3 separate regions of the Homo sapiens genome follow, and regions 1 and 3 are each linked to region 2. Evidence: promoter capture Hi-C in 16 types of primary human blood cells and fetal thymus (Javierre and others, 2016). All regions are on one chromosome and are shown on one strand. Each heading gives the region's core, a stretch centred on a gene start or on the middle of the fragment in contact. The rest is flanking DNA. Distances are from core to core; before and after follow the strand shown.

The links. The method cuts DNA at HindIII sites, captures the fragments that hold promoters and counts their contacts. A CHiCAGO score of 5 or more calls a contact.
Region 1: a contact is called between a fragment that was not itself captured here and the fragment with the promoter of GSPT2 in region 2, in 1 of 17 cell types (fetal thymus). The highest score is 8.7, in fetal thymus.
Region 3: a contact is called between a fragment that was not itself captured here and the fragment with the promoter of GSPT2 in region 2, in 1 of 17 cell types (fetal thymus). The highest score is 5.9, in fetal thymus.

Annotation. Positions count from the first base shown.
Region 1 is chrX:51,823,244-51,826,924 of GRCh38, reverse strand. It overlaps a transcript of MAGED1 not described here. Among named protein-coding and RNA genes, the nearest start is that of MAGED1, 69 kb to the left of the region's middle. The HindIII fragment of the contact is 909 bases long and covers 919-1,827 here.
Region 2 is chrX:51,741,707-51,745,178 of GRCh38, reverse strand. It overlaps GSPT2 (G1 to S phase transition 2), which reads right to left and starts at 1,737. Exons shown (of 1, transcript NM_018094.5): 1 at 1-1,737. The coding sequence starts at 1,552. The HindIII fragment of the contact is 6,668 bases long and covers 1-2,378 here.
Region 3 is chrX:51,854,983-51,858,570 of GRCh38, reverse strand. It overlaps a transcript of MAGED1 not described here and the pseudogene LOC100631242. Among named protein-coding and RNA genes, the nearest start is that of MAGED1, 37 kb to the left of the region's middle. The HindIII fragment of the contact is 536 bases long and covers 1,276-1,811 here.

The DNA.
Region 1 (3,681 bases), core at 124-2,623, 82 kb before region 2:
GCAGAGTTTTGTGTAGACATAAGTTTTCAACCCATTTGAGTAAATATCAAGGAACGCAATCGCTGGATCATATGGTAAGACTACATTTAGTTTTGTAAGAAACTGTCAAACTGTTTTCCAAAGTGGCTATACCATTTTGTATTCCCACCAGGAAAGAATGAGAGCTCCTGTCGCTTCATCTTTCCACCAGTATGTGATGTTCTTAGTGTTTTGGATTTGGAACATTCTAATAAATGTGTAGTGGTATCTTTTTTAACTTACAATTTCCTAATAACATATGCTGTTGAGCATCTTTGCACATGCTTATATATTATCTGTATATTTTCTTTGGTGAGGTGTCTTTGTTCAGGTCTTTTGCCTATTTTTTAATCAGTTTATTTCATTTAGTCAACTGATTTTTTTTTACATAAGCATAAAGGTAATTCAATGGAGAAGGACAATCTTTGCCAAAAAAAATGGTGCTGAAACAACTGGAATCCATGTGCAAAATAAAATTATGACACAAACCTCACACTTCACATGAAAATTAATTCAAAATGGATCACGAATCTAAATATAAAACAGAAAATTATAAAACTTCTAGAAGAAAACAGAAAACTTGCATGACCTTAGGCTTTAGCAATGAGGTTTTAGATACAACACCAAACTTATGGGAATTCTGGAATGGCTATGTGAGGAGCTCAGTGAAATCTCCTCCCCAAAGAGACATCTAATAAAACTGGTCAAAACAAGCAAAGCCAATCACCTAAAGTCTCTGGGGATTGATCAACGGCAACAAAATCTACAGAACTAAGTAAGAACAAGGAGAGTCTGCGGCATTTCAGCCAGGGGCTGCTCATTTCTCCCTACATTTCTGTGCTGTCAAAGAACTACATTAGCTGGCTCAGCTGTTTAGCAGTGGCATCAACTCCCAAAGCTTCAGTTCTAAAGAACTGTCATTATTTGTCCTGTCTGTTGGTTCCCCAGAAGACGCTACTTAAAAGGTTTATGTTTGATTCAGTGCAAAACCCATACTAAAAGCCCCTCCACAAATGATAACACTTGGAGCAAACAATAAACTAAATAAAAAGAATGAAAGGAAAAGCTGAGGAATAAGCTATCAATAGGGGATTTGAAGAGTTCTGATATTTTCTAGGGAATATAGAAGACCATCTGCATGTATAGGGCTGTGTGCATGCTCAGGAAACACCTGAGAAGGCCATAAACTCTCACTTCTAACTGACTTTTCGGCTCTTTGCAATCAGGAAGTGAAGGCTAATGTACGGTTGTAAACTGCCTGGCTAAGTGTTGCATGCCCCAAGATGTATACAGATCCCTTTGTTAAAGATGATGCAATTTATTGGTCCCAGGCATTTAAGGAAATCTTTATCCAATGATGGCTAAGCTACTGAGTAGATACTTTAGTGGTTACACATACAATAAATACACTTTGTTCTTTGCTTCTTCAGCCCTTCTCCTCTACGAAGTCAACCTCTTCTGCTCTCAGCTCATTTGAACAAGTATTCTATTTTGTGGAATAGTGTTGCCTGATTCTAGAATCACAAATACGGCCAAGTGAGATCTTTAAACTAAATTTGTTGTAATTTTGTCTTTTGACACATTGTTGCCCTTTAGAGCTCTCTCTGACCCAGAGACTCCCCACTGTGCTGCTGAGTAGCCATCACCTAAACATGTAAGTCAAGTCCCCTCTACAATCTCCCTCTCTGGAAATTCCATGGCCTCTTCCCCTTCAGAGTAGCAACTCCCAAGCCATGGCCTCTGGACAGGCTCCTACTGTGAGAGACTTCCCCAACATGCAAGCCTGTCAACACATCTCCCAATAAAGCTTGTGTGTGATACTGCCACCTCATAGACATATGTCTTTCTTTGATAAGCCCCTAAATCCTTCAAGCCCCCTACAAATATAAAGTAACAGATACGAAAAATTCATTAGAGGGGCTCAAGAGCAGATTTACACTGATAGAAAAAAATAGTCAGCAAGATAGTCCAATTCAGATCATCCAGTCTGAGGAACAGAAATTTTACACACACACACACACACACACACACACACACACACACAGGTTTCTGAGACTGTGTGTGTCTGTGCATATATATATATGTATATATACATATATGTACGTATATATACGTATATATATGTGTATATATACATACGTGTATATATGTATGTGTATATATATATATACAGACACACACACACACACACACACACACACAGAGACAATATAAACACAGCCTCAGAAACTTGTAAGAAATCATCTAGCAACCAAAATACATATAATGGGAATCAGAGAAGAAAATAGAAAAGAGGAAGAAGATATTTGAACAAATTACAGCTGAAAGCATCACAAATTTGATGAAAAAATGTTTACATACACATTCTAAAAAGCAAACAAACACCAAGTAGGAAAAATGAGAAGTATATACACATAGGCACATCATAATAAAAATACTGAAAGCCAAAAACAAGGAGAAAATCCCAAAGAGCAATAAGAGAAAAACAACTCTTCACAAACAAGAAAACAGAAGTTTAACAGTTGACTTCTCCTCAGAAGTCATGGCCAAAAAGCAGTGGGAAGACATATTCAAGTTACAGAAAGAAAAAAAACTGCAATCAAGAATTCTATATCTAATAAAGGAAGTAAAACTATCCTTCAAAAGTGAAGGAGAAAATGGGACATTATCAGATAAACAAAACTGAAAGAGATATCAAGTAGCTGGCAGATGCCCTATGAGCAATACTAAAGGAAGTCCTTCAGTCTGAAAGGAAAGGACACTAGATAGTAACGTGAAATCATAAGATGAAATAAAGTACACTGGTAAAGGTAACTACATAGGTAAATATTAAAAACAGTATAAATATAGTTGTTGCTTTTTTAAAATTTGCAATTCCTATGTTTTCCAGTCTGACTTAAAACATGACTACCACAATAATTATAAATCTACGTTGATGGACACACAGTGCAAAAAGACGTAATTTGTGACACTAACAACATAAAGAAGGTTACAGTGCTATTAAAGAAGCAAAGCTTTTGTATTCTAGGACAGTAAGTTCATATAAATCTGAACTAGATTCTCATCAATTGAGATGTTAATGGTAATCTCCAAAGAATGAACTAAAAAAAAAATACCAAAATATATAGCAAAGAAACAACAAGGGAATTGAAATGGCACAGTGGAAAATATTTAAGACAAATGAAAGCAGTAATGTAAGAATAGAAAAACAAAAGTGACATAAGACATAAGGAGGACAGATAACAAAACACACATGTAAATTCTACCTGAAGAGTAACTGCACTAAATGTGAATGGATTGAACTCTCCAATAAAGAGAGAGACTAGTTAAATCGACAAAAAAAGTTATGGCCCAACTATACATTATCTTCAAGAGAATGATTTTAGATTCAAAGGCACAAATAAGTTTAACGTAAAAGAATGGAAAAAGAGATACCATATAAACATTACCCAAAAAAGAGTAGGAGTGGTTATACTAATAGCAGACAAAATAGACTTTAAAACAAATATTGGTAAAACAGACAAAGAATAACATTTTGCAATCTTTAAGCTGCCAATCCATCACAAAAATATAACTATGATAAACTTACATTCATCTACCAACAGATTCCAAAAACTGACAGAACTGAAGAGAGAAATGAACAATTCAATAACATATTCTGGC
Region 2 (3,472 bases), core at 488-2,987:
AATGGCAGAGGTTACTAGGATCACAAAGTATGAATCCTGGAAGAATCTCTTCTTCTTCAATTCCCTTCAGTCTGATTTTGAGGTTTTCACCTGGGGCTACAAAATCAGTTTCAGTATCATCAGAAAGTATTCCAAGAACTTCTACATTGTGCTTGTTTGGCATCATCACGAGCTGCTGGCCTTTAAAAATGGACCCGGATTCCAGCTTTCCCAGGACCACAGTGCCCATATCTTTGTACTTATCCACAATTGGCAGTCTTATTGGTCCATCAATTGATCTGTTGAAGTTTGGCAAGTTATCCAAATACGGAATAAATGGTAATCCAGTGTACCAAGGGCAGAAATCTGACTGCTCTTTAATATTTGCTCCGGTCAGTCCTGAGCAGGGCATAAAGTGAATGTCCTTTTTTGGACTGAAGCCTACTTTTTTCAAAAAGGGCACCAGTTTTTCTTTACATTCTTCATATCTCTCGATGCTCCAATTTACTGTGGGATCATCCATCTTATTAATAAGCACTATTAAATGTTTTACCCCTGCCGTTTTTGCCAACATCGCATGTTCTCTTGTCTGTCCACCTTTTTCAAATCCAGTTTCAAACTCTCCTTTCCTGGCAGAGATGACCAGCACAGCCAAATCAGCTTGAGAAGCACCACCAATCATATTTGGGACAAAACTCTTGTGGCCAGGGGCATCTAAAATTGTGAAATGTTTCCTTTCTGTTTCAAAATAGGCACGACCCACTTCGACTGTTTTACCCTTGTCTCGTTCCTCCTGATTTGTATCTAAGGCCCAGGACAAATACCAGGTTTCTCTGTTTTTTTCCTTAGCTTCTCTTTCATATTTCTCCAGTGTTCTTTTGTCAACCATTCCAGTCAAAAACATTATCTGTCCTCCGATGGTTGACTTGCCAGCGTCTACATGGCCAATGAATACTACATTTACGTGTTCTTTCTTAGGTGCACCTGAGGGTACGATCACAGATTTGGATTTTCTTATTTCCTCTTTTTCCTCCATCATTTCCTGGCCACTTTCTTCTGGGGGCCCTGAATCTCCCGAGGAACCACCCCCAGGCTCGGCTTCACTTACTTCTTTACTGTGCTCCCATGATTCTTCTAGGGCCATTTCCACCTCTCCATTTTCTACAACAGGTTCTGAAAGTTCCATGGTAACGGCTGAATTGGAACCTTCAAGCGACACTAACGGTTCCTCTCGGGAAGGTTCCACAGGTGCCCCCCGTCCCATCCTTTTACCTTGAGGGTATCCCGCGCCGGTGCAGGTTTCATCGTTGCTGCCGGAGCCGGCCGGGAGGGTGGGCGGCTGAGTCGGGCCCCGCAGGAAGGACGGCACGAACTCCGCGGCGTGTACGTTAGGCACGAAGGGCTTGGCGTTGACGTTGAGCTTACGGCTGAAAGCCGAGCTGAGGGGCTCGCGCTGGGCCTCGGCCACCGCAGAGGAGACTCCATCCCCGCTCGGGGCCGACCCCGGGGATTCCATGTCCACCTGGTCCCAGCAATCGGGCGCCGAGTCGCTGCTGCTGCTGCCCGAATCCATGGTCTCGGAACTTGCTGTGTGGCAGTGAGGGAGCGGGCTCAACAGGCCAGAAGAGCGGGCTCCGCCGGCGGGGTTAAGGCAGCAAGAGCGAAGGGCCAAGGGGTAGCGACACGAACCTTAGCTGCACCGCGGAGGCAGCTAAGCGCCGATGCTGCATTCGCAACTGCGGCGGCAGCAGCAGATATGGCGGCTCAACACTCTCCTCTTGTGTGTGAGCGGATCTCCTCCCCCAAACCCCAACCACTTCCGACTCCTCCACCCCCGACCCAACGCCGGGCGTGGATTGACCCCTCGCTGCTATCCGTACGCTTGGCTTCCTTACTTCTTCTTAGCCACGGGCTAAGTCCAAAAGTATTATTTTTTAAAACGAAAATTTCCATTCACTTTTTTGTTCACACAGTCTGGCAGAGCAATTTGACCACAATCTGATGATTAAACCTAGACAGGAACACATGGTATACAATTCTACCAAAAGATTCAAGTAAAAGTGATCATTTCTATTGAACAAATGGGAGGCAAGATAAGGGTTAACTATACAGAAATTCAGAAACCCAGCAACTGAAGGGAGAGGCAAGGAATGGGTAGGGAGGGACTCATGAAATATATGAGTCTGTAGCCGAACTTAGGAAATGCAACTTAAGATCACTCATTAATTTGAAATCCACAGGCCTTTTGATTTTCCCTTTCCAGTGGGCCCCCATAAGCCTGTAACTTCTGCTGATGGCTTCTATAGTTTAAGGATAGGGTTACAACTTCTTTTCATGTTAAGCACCCTGGCTGTCTGAGGGGAGAGAATTTCCAAGGAGATCCTTGTTCCAGTGAAGCTTCCAGTCACTTCATATGCAGATGCCTGCACAATGGCTGGCCTGCCATTCAATGGTGGATCACGTAGACAAGCACAGGACTCAGATCACTCTTGTTTTACCAACCAACTGAATTCTGGGTTTATCTGCACTACTCCCCAGCACCTCCCTAGTACATCCTGCATCCACAGGCCTCGGGTTTTCCTGCTTCATTCCGGGGGGCCTGGAATCCTACTCACTGCACTGGCTTTGCTCTAAGAAACAATCAGTGTCATGTTGAACCCCTCTACAGTTTATGGTAATGAGACAGGGCTGTAGGTGTCAGCCTAATTAAACCAATTAAGACTTCTGAGATGAACAAAGACCTTAAGACCCTAATCAAAAGAATCTCACTCTCAGAAAGTGTTAACAGTTGAGTCAAAGCCTCAGCGACCTTGTTTGTAAATTAATTTAGTGCAAACTGACATAGAAAATACAAACTTATTCTCTGAATCTGTTTTTAGTCTTCATGTACTCAAATCTGTCACCTTTTGCTTTTATGAATTCAGGTTTTGTGACATACCTAGAAAGACTATTCAGTCCAAACAATCTGCTTAGTACAAGATGGTGTCACATAGATGGATTTATTTTTTTATTTTGAGACAAAGTTTCACTTTTGTTGCCCAGGCTGGAGTGCAGTGGCATGATCTCAGCTCACTGCAACTTCTGCCTCCTGGGTTCAAGCAATTCTCCTGCCTCAGCTTCCTGAGTAGCTGGGATTACAGGCGTCCGCCACCAAGCTCAGCTAATTTTTCTTAATATATATTTTTAGTAGAGACAGGGTTTCACCATGTTGGCCAGACTGGTCTTGAACTCCTGACCTCAGGTGATCCACCTGCCTCGGCCTCCCAAAGTGCTGGGATTACAGGCATGAGCCACCACGCCTGGCCTCATAGTTGGATATTTAAATCCAACAACAAAGCAAAATATTATAAAACCAAGTACCTGATTATAACTTGAGAATTGTGTTCTCCAGACTTTAGGGGTAGGAAAAAAGACAGACTTGGACCCTTGATGTTTTCACTCTGGGGCTGCCACTATTATACTAGCTCTGTACTGTTTCCACACCTTCATTCTT
Region 3 (3,588 bases), core at 294-2,793, 110 kb before region 2:
AGAAAGTGGTTAGGGTGAGCATTTGAGAACAGAATTTTGTTATTAATGAAATCTTTCAAGATTGGAAGTAATCCCTATTCAAAGGGATAATATAAATATGATAAAGTCTTTATAGTCCTTACTAAATTTGATAGAACCCAATGTAGAGTCTCTAATTCCAAAACTGACTGAAGGCTCCCAATACTCACTGAAGAGTGAATCCTGATTTCTGAAGGAATTTCTTAATAATGAATAAAGACTAACACATCCTTGAAGATTTACATATTGCCACTATAAACCCAGAACAATTAAACTCTCTAGGACTCAAACCCTGGCTCTTCCAGTGACTAGTATGTGATCTTGGGGAAGTTTTTCCACCTCATTTCTTTGGTTTCTTCATGTGTGTGTAAAACAACGAGGATTTCTACATTGTATGATTATTGTAAAAAAATGATTAAACAATGTAAAGTTCTTGTAGTGCTTGGCACACTGGCAGGCGTGTAATTATGTGGTAACTATTTTAACTTTTACAAAGAATCTTTTTTTCATTTTTACCAAGACGTGATTTTCTCATAAAGACTTTCCCACACACATTACATTAATAAGATTCCTGCCACTCTGTATTTTCTGATGCTGAGTAAGATTAAACTTCAGATTGAAGGCCTTTCCACACTCACTGCATTTAAGCGAACTCGCTATAGACTTGCCAATATCAAATAAGGCTGATATCCTGCTGAAAGCATACCCATAATTTTTTACGTACATAGAAGGTGATGCCTTTATGAATCCTCTGATAATGAATAAGACTTAGCCTCTAATTGAAGGCTTATTCATTACAGGTACAGAGTGTCTGTCCACTATGAATCTGCAGATGATGAACAAGGATTGATTTCTGTTTGGAGGTTTTTGTATATTCATTGTAAAAGATTATCTTTGATGACAAATAAAATTTGAGCTCTAGATTAAAAACATTTCCATATTCATTACACTGAAAGGATCTCTTTCCATCTCCGCTATAAATTTTCTAATGTTTTTGAAGGTCTGTTATCTCCAGATACCCTTTCCCACATTCATCATTGCATAAGGTTACTTTCCACTATGAATTCTCTCATGTTTAGTAAAGTCTGAGCTGGATCTGAAAGCCTTTCCACATGCATTATGAGCATAGGGTTGTTCTCCACTATGAATTCTCTCATGTTAAAAAAAACAGTCTGAGTTTGTCTTGAGGCCTTTCCCACAGTCAGTACACTCATAGGGATTCTGTCCAGTATAAACTTTTGCATGATTCAAAAAGCTTCATCACCCACTGCAATTTGTCCAGCATTGGGAAAGTTTTTCTACCCTATGAAATTTCTGGTGTTGAAAGAGAATCATGTCCTGCCTTTCCACATTCTTATGGCCATAACAAATCAATGAATTCTCAGGTGTGAGTCCTCAGATGGTAAGTAAGACTGGCATCATGATTAAAAATTTCTTTATATTCACTACATTCACAGCATTCATAGGGTTTCTCTTTATCATGAGTACTCTGAGGTACCTCCCTTGAACACTGACAAAGGGCTTTTTGACATTAATCACATACATAAGACTTTTCCCCATGAGAACCTCCCCAGTGTCTCACAAATTCTAAAACCTTTGCAAGAGTTATGGTCATGTGAATCATATCTCTGTGCTTTTTTTCCTAGAAGATTCCCATATATAATATGCATCTAGCTTGCCTTTCCTCAGTTAATTCACTCACAGCCTTTCTCTTCAGTAGTATAAGTGGCAGTACTGTGCCTGTAACAAATTTCCCTGCGTAAGGAATACATTCAACTCTTCCCTGCCAAGCTTTCCTGCAGCCATTCCTTTACCTATATGTCATCACATGCCAAGTCTTCTCCAAAGAAGAGACTCAGACCAATAGTCCTTGGATTCTGGATCCATAACATTCTTTGGAATTTCACTTTTTCTGAAATTTCCCTCTTTAGAGTAGAACTCACTCTAAATCATAATCTTATCACCTAAAATGATAGACTCACATACATAAATGGGCAAAGAACATGAGTAACAGTTCACAAAAAAGGAAATGCAAACAGATTAATAAATACATGAAATATTCCATTTTGTTAGTCATCAATTAATGTAAAGTGAAACAACCATGAGAGTTTATTTTTCCTTTCTCATTCCCACCAGCAGCTTATATGAATGCCTAACTGACTATTCTCCTTCCTGGTATGAATGTAAATTAGTACAATTTTCTGGAAAACAATTTTGCAGTATGTAATTAAAAACCAGAGAATAGTCATACCTTTTGACCCAATAATCACTCTTCAAGCAATCTATTCCAAACAAATAGTCAGATATCCAAACATCCATGTACAAAACTACTTATGGAAGCATTTATATTAGTGAAAAAATGAAAACACCTGAAAGGTCCAAGAATATGAAATTGATTAAGTAAATTGTGGTATATTTTAATGATGGGATATTATGTAGTCATCAGAACTATTGTCAAAGAATTGTTATCGACAAGTGGGAATTCTTAAAAGATAACTTTTAGAGAAGAAAGCAGGTGTTATGGGCTGAACTGTGTCCCCTCAAAATTCATACGGTGAAGTCCCAACCCCTAGTACCTCAGAACGTGACTACACTGGAGACAAGATCTTTAAAAAGGTAGTTAAATTAAAAATGACATCATTAGTGTCTAGTTAGGTAGTTAAATTAAAATGACATCATTAGAGTTCTAATCCAACATGCCTGGTGTCCTTATAAGAAGAGGAGATAAGCCCGGTGCGGGGGCTCATGCCTGTAATCCTAGCACTTTGGGAGGCCGAGGCGGGCAGATCATTTGAGGTCAGGAGTTTGAGACCAGCCTGGCCAACATGGTGAAAACCCGTCTCTACTAAAAACACAAAAATTAGCCGGGCATGGTGGTGGGCACCTGCAATCCCAGCTACTCAGGAGACTGAGGCAGGAGAATTGCAAAAATAAAATAAAAAGAAGAGGAGATAAAGACAGAGATATACAGAGAAGGAAAACCATGTGAGGACACAGGAAGGAGAAGACGGCCATCTACATGCCAAGGAGAGAGGCCTGAGAAGAAACCAACCCTGCCAGCACCTTGATCTCAGACGTCTAGCCTCCAGAATTGGGAAAAAATAAATTTCTATTGTTTAAGCCACCCAGACTGTGGTACACAGTCCTAGCAAATGATACAAAACTGTATATACTGAAAAGAAATATATCAATTACTGAATAGTATTTATCTCTAGTTAATAAAACTGTGGGTCACTTTTATTTCCTTCCTAATAAAGTTTTGTTGTTCTCTAAAATCTTCAAAATGAGCATGTCTCTACTTTTATAATGTAAAATACGTAAAAAAGGAAGATATCCATAACTAAACAGCTTAAAAAATAATACACAGAAAAACATAACTTTTACTTAATGAAAAGAAGCTGACAAAATAAGACAGAGAATCAGCTGAGAAATTAAGGCCTGCTGAGACCCAGTGATATGTCTCACTTTGGGGTGGCCTCCCAAATCAGGGAGAGAGGGACATGAAGAAACAAAGTGATATGAGGATGACTGGTTTATCTGGAGGACAATGCAGAGGCAATGAAAAGAGAT